2 separate regions of the Homo sapiens genome follow, and region 1 is linked to region 2. The links are contacts of gene promoters, found by promoter capture Hi-C in human tissues and cell types (Jung and others, 2019). All regions are on one chromosome and are shown on one strand. Each heading gives the region's core, a stretch centred on a gene start or on the middle of the fragment in contact. The rest is flanking DNA. Distances are from core to core; before and after follow the strand shown. Region 1 overlaps CBL (Cbl proto-oncogene). Region 2 holds the start of CBL (Cbl proto-oncogene).

Region 1 (2,935 bases), core at 116-2,615, 43 kb before region 2:
TTACTGCCTGGAGAGTTTTCATGTCTCAGCACTAGAAAGGGAATTCAGGCAGACTTGACGGTCACTCTGGGTTGAGAAGACAGAATTTGGGGCCTGGGAAAGCCAAGGCATCTGGAGTTCACAGTGCAAAATACAAGAGAGGAGAGAGATGCATAAAGAAAGCCCAGCTTTGAAGAGCTACAGAGGGGACCTTCTAAGTCTTCAGCTAAGCACTGATCAACACAGGAAAATACCTGAAGCTAGGGAAAGAACCACCTGAAAGGGGTAGAGGGAATAATCCCTAGATCTCACACAAGGACAAGAGAGGAAAAAAATCTTACAATTCAATGGACATCAGGGGAAATTTACCCTAGATTAAAGGTCATTTTGGTCCTGCCTCACAAGGTTTAAAAGGATCAAACTATTCCATGTAACATAGCTGTGTCCCAGAACACAGCTTAGGAGTATTTATAATATAAAAGAATCCAGTGTAGAACAAGGTAAGATTAACGATGTCTGGCATCCACTCAAAAATTGCCCAGCATGGACTGAAACAGAAAAATATGACTCTTACTGAGGATAAAAATAAACCAATAGAATTAAATCTATGAGTGACAAAGATGACAGAATTAGCAGACAAAAGCCAGGCACAGTGGCTCACATCTAAAATCCCAGCACTCTAGGAAGCTGAGTAAGGTAGGAGGATCACTTGAGCCCAGGAGTTTGAGACCAGCCTGGGCAACATAATGAGGCTGTATCTGTACAAAAAAATAAGTTAGTCTGTATGGTAGTGTGTGCCTGTATTCTCAGCAACTTGGGAAGCTTAGGTGGGAGGATCGATACTTGAGCCCAGGAGGCTGAGACTGCAGTGAGTCATGATCATACCACCTGGGAGATAAAGGGAGACCCTGTCTCAATTAAAAAAAAAAAAAGAAAGAAAGAAAGAAACTGTACCAAAATAATAGCAATATTAGTCACTTTCCTTTCCCTTTTGTTATTTGATTTCAATTCTCTATAATGTGCCCACAGCATTTTTTTTTTTTTTTTGAGACCGAGTCTCACTCTGTCACCCACGCTGGAGTGCAGTGGCGTCTCACCTCACTGCGAACCCTGCTTCCTGGGTTCAAGCGGTTCTCCTGCCTCAGCCTCCCAACTAGCTGGGATTACAGGCGTGTGCCACCATGCCCAGCTAATTTTTGTATTTCAGTAGAGATGGGGTTTTTCCATGTTGGCCAGGCTGGTCTCAAACTCCTGACTTCAAGTGTTCTGCCCTGCTTGGCCTCCCAAAGTGCTGGGATTACAGGCATGAACCTCCACGCCCAGTCGAAAATTTCATTTTTTATGAGTGAATAATATTCCACCATATGGCTATAACACATTTGCTTCACCCACTCATCTGCTGAACACTTGAACTGCTTCTACTTTTTGGCTGTTGTGAAAACTGCTGCTATGAACATGGGTGTACAAATATCTGTTCAAGTCCTTGCTTTCAATTCTTTGGGGTATGTACCTAGAAGAACTGCTAGATCCTATGGTAATTCTATGTTCAGCTTTCTAAAGAACTGCCAAACTGTTTCCCACAGTGGCTGTACCATTTTCTATTCCTATCACCAATGCATGAGGGTTTTATTCTTAAAATAATATCCACCTAACAGCTGTGAAGTGGTATCTCATTGTGGTTTTGATTTGCATTTCCTTAATGATTTAATGATGTTGAGCATCCTTTCATGAGCTTATTGGACAGCTGTATATCTTCTCTGAAGAAAAATCTATTCAAAACTTTTGAGCATTTTTGAATTGGTTTGTTTTGTTGTTGTTTTGAAGTTCTTTACATGTTCTGGATGTTGATCCCTTATCAAATATATAACTTGTAAATATTTTGACCCATTCTGTGTGCTGCCTTTTCACTTCCTTAATATGTCCTTTGATGAACAAAGTTCTTAATTTTCATGAAGTCTGATTTATCTATCTTTATGCTTTTGGTGTCATACTTAAGAAATCATTGCCTAATCCAAGATTCATGAAGATTTTCACTTATGTTTCTTCTACAAATTTTGTATTTTAGTTCTTAAATTTAGGTCTTTGATACATTTTGAGAGTTGTTTGTTTTCATTTTTTTGGCCCATCCTTCTGCAGGATTTTTATATGCAACATAAGGAAAGGATCCAACTTCATTCTTTTGAATGTGATAATTTAGTTTTCCCAGCACCATTTGTTGAAAAGACTGTTGTTTCTCCATTGAGAAGCTTGTCAAAAAAGTATCGATTGACCATATGTATGAGGGTTTATTTCTGGGCTCTCAATTCTAGTCTACTGGTCTGTATGTCTATCCTTATACCAGTACCACAATGTTTTGATTATTGCAGCTTTGCAGTAAAGCTTTGAAATCAGAAATACAAGTCTTCCAACTTTATTCTTGTTCAAGATTGTTTTGGCTATTTGAGGTCCCTTAAGATTTTTTATGACTTTTAAAATCCACTAGTCAGCTTCTGAAAAAAGTGCTACTGGAATTTTGATAGGTATTGCAATGACTGTGTATCAACATGGGGAATACTGCAACCTTAACAATTCTAAGTTATAATCCATGAACACAGAATGTCTCTCCATTTATTTAGGTCTTCTTTAGTTTCTTTCAGCAATGTTTTGTAGTTTCCAGTGTACAAGTCTTTTGCCTCCTTAATTTTATTCCTAAGTATTTTATTATTTTTGATACTACTGCAAATGGAATTTTCTTAATTTTATTTTTGGATTGTTCATTCCTTATGTATAAAACTATAATTTTTATTTGAGACGGACCCTTGCTCTGTCACCCAAGTTGAAGTGCAGTGGCATGATCTCGACTCACTGCAACCCCTGCCTGCCGGGTTTCAAGCAATTCTCCTGCCTTAGCCTCCCAAATAGCTGGGATTACAGGCCCCCATCACCACACCCAGCTAATTTTTGTATTTTTAGTAGA
Region 2 (2,700 bases), core at 158-2,657:
TTTTCATACGCAATATGAATTTTGTCAAAGTAATTAATTAAAGAATATGAAAAATACCAAGAAAACGTATTGAATTCTGACAAAGCGTCCGACTGCTTAAACAGTTAAATACTTGAGACTGACTACATTTCATCATATAGACACAACTATAAGGAAGTAAAATTCTCCCAAATGACAAACTTAGTGGCTAAATATAAAGGAGTTATTTTTGTTCGCACTTGCAAAAAGCAAACAAACAAAAAAGCGTAATCAAAGAAGCTCAACGAACAAGTTTAAAGTCAGGACCTGTAATAAGGAGTCAGAACCGTTACCAGAAAAAAAGAACCCAGCTCAAGCGATGTAGTAGGGAGGAAGTTATTAAGAAGTCAGAATCTGCTGCTGCTTAACAGGCTCAGCCAGTCCATCTTTCAGAAGATAATAGTTCTAACCAGAACTTGTGGTTTAATCAGTGCATATCTCAGCACCAGCAATGGATCACATCCAGTGTTTCTGAGGGTAACAAAAAACTTGAGCCGGCGCTAGATGGGGAGGAAAGTTCTTTCCTTGCCTCACTTAAACATCAATATGTCTTTTATCTTCGTGTTACATCTTAATGAGAAAGGACTATACTCTCACCCAGAGCACAGCTTCCCTGAGAGCTGTCCTGACCCCAGCCAGGTTCCTCAGTCAGAGCCCATGAACCTAATTCCCTAGTCAGATCTCACCCAGCCAAGAGCCCCAGCCGGTACATCACTCTTCCTCACCCCCTCCCTGCTAACCTCCCAGGCCAATTCCGTGACCTACATCCCTACACCCTGCACAGAGCCCCAAACTCCGCACCCCTCATTGTACTTCCGCCCCACTGACTTCCCAGTTAACCTTCGCCCCAGCCCCCACTCCATCTTTGTCTGGCTACCCCAAACGCGGCACCCCAGCGTTCCCCGACTCCCAACGGCAGCCCCTCCCCCACGCCGCCCCCCACCCTCCCGGCCTCGTCCCTGCCCCCACGCCCCCGGCCGGTCACCCCGGCTCCGCGCCTCCCCGGCTTCACCAGACCCGTCCCCTCCCCCGCTTCCTCCGTCCGCTCGTTCCCCTCCCCGCGGCCCTCCGCCCACGCCCACCCTGCAACAGCGGGCGCTCAGCCGGCCTTTCACCTTGTCCATGAGCTTCCAGCACTTCTCCACCATCTTCTTGTCCACCGTCCCCGGCGGGTGGGGGCTGAGGTGGTGGTGGTGGTGGTGGTGCGGCTGGAAGGCGTCCTTCATGAGCCCAATCAGGCCACCCGAACCCGAGCCCCCGGAGCCGCTGCCGCCCCCGGCCCCAGAGCTCTTCTTCACGTTGCCGGCCATGGCCTGGGCAGGGTCGGAGCCCAGGCGGGTCCGCCGGCTCGGCTCGACTGCGAGCGAGGGAGAGAAGCAGGGCGTGAAGGAGGGGCCTCTCCCGGCCGCCGCCGCCGCCGCCGCCGCCGCCGCCGCCGGCTATCCGGGCGGAGGGAGGAGCGGCCGTGGGGAGGGGAGTGGGCGGCGCCGGGAGTGCGCGGGACGCGCCCCTTCAGAGCGCGCGAGCCCGGGGCGGGCGGGGCGCGTCCCGGAGGCGGACCGGCTTACTGGTAAGCTCGGGGAAGCGGCCGGCCGCGGCCGGACTGGGCAGCGACGATCCCCGGGCCACCGGCTTCGAGCAGCTCGCGTGCCCACAGCTCCCGGAAAGCCGCGGCCAGGTTTCTGTGCCCGTCTTCCCCGCCCCTACGCCGGGGCGGGGCGGGGCCAGGCTGGGGCGGGGTCGGCGGAACCTTTGGGCCTGCGCCCTCTGCTGGAGAAACGGGGAAAGGAGCGGCGGGGGGTTGGGGAGTAGGTCCAAGGTGGAGTCTGCGCAGTAGCCAGAAACCAAGACTTCCATGCTCCTTGTGGGCGGGAGGTTGGCGCTTCTGGGGTGGGTCATGGGAATGTTTAAATTAAGACAGGTGGCGATGGAATGGAAGAGTCCTGATGTCAAGTCTTTCCCCACCCCTGACAAATGAGGAAATCGAGCTTAGAGTTATTTGTTTATTTACACTGTGGGAGGATGGTGGGAGAAAAAGGAAAGTTATTTCTCCACCCCTTATTATTTTCAATTCTTCATTAAGACACGACCAAGGACAGGAATATGAATGCTGCGGCCCATTCCAGCCGGATTAGGCCCCAGAAAGCCTTGAGACACTCAAGCCAGGACCTCTTCTTCCAGGCCCTTTGACCTCTTGAAAAGAAATCACTTCCTTTTTTTATTTTTTATTTTTATTTTTTTGGCTTGTGAAGACTAGTTACGTTTCTGGGAATTGAATCTCAAACATGTATTTAAGATTCTCCTACTCAGAGCATTGCACCACAGGTCGGCGCCGCCAGCATGAGGGCCCCCTCAGAAGCTGACCTGCTGCTGGCTCCGCCCGAGGGGGTTCTCTCTCCCGCCCAGGGAACAGAAATGCTGTTCCTGGTCACTTCCACTTCTCAGTCAATTACACTTCTCTAATGTAAAAGTTCCGTTGGAAGAACTTTGAAAATAGGAACTTCCCTTCCAAAGAGGGAAGTGCCCTGCCCTAATTTACTAATTCTGAGCCTCAGTTTTGGGAGTTTGCAGACCCAGGTGTGTCAGTATCAGTTCCGCCTTCGATCCCCCTCCAGGCTCTTCCACAAAGCCCTTGACAGATTAGGGAGTTAAATTTATCCGGTGCTCCTGTAAAGGGGAAAA

The links. Contacts are between HindIII fragments. The study calls those that stand out against the background at their distance.
Region 1: a fragment that was not itself captured here is called in contact with the fragment with the promoter of CBL in region 2 in 4 of the 25 tissues and cell types used here (IMR-90 fibroblasts, aorta, liver and 1 more).

What each region holds. Positions count from the first base shown.
Region 1 is chr11:119,247,643-119,250,577 of GRCh38, reverse strand. The region is part of intron 2 of CBL (Cbl proto-oncogene); the gene reads right to left. Among named protein-coding and RNA genes, the nearest start is that of CBL, 43 kb to the right of the region's middle. The HindIII fragment of the contact is 3,159 bases long and covers 1-2,935 here.
Region 2 is chr11:119,205,046-119,207,745 of GRCh38, reverse strand. CBL (Cbl proto-oncogene) reads right to left here and starts at 1,407. Exons shown (of 16, transcript NM_005188.4): 1 at 1,134-1,407. The coding sequence starts at 1,328. RefSeq lists silencers at 890-949, 1,140-1,329, 1,400-1,789, 1,830-1,899. The HindIII fragment of the contact is 26,271 bases long and covers 1-2,700 here.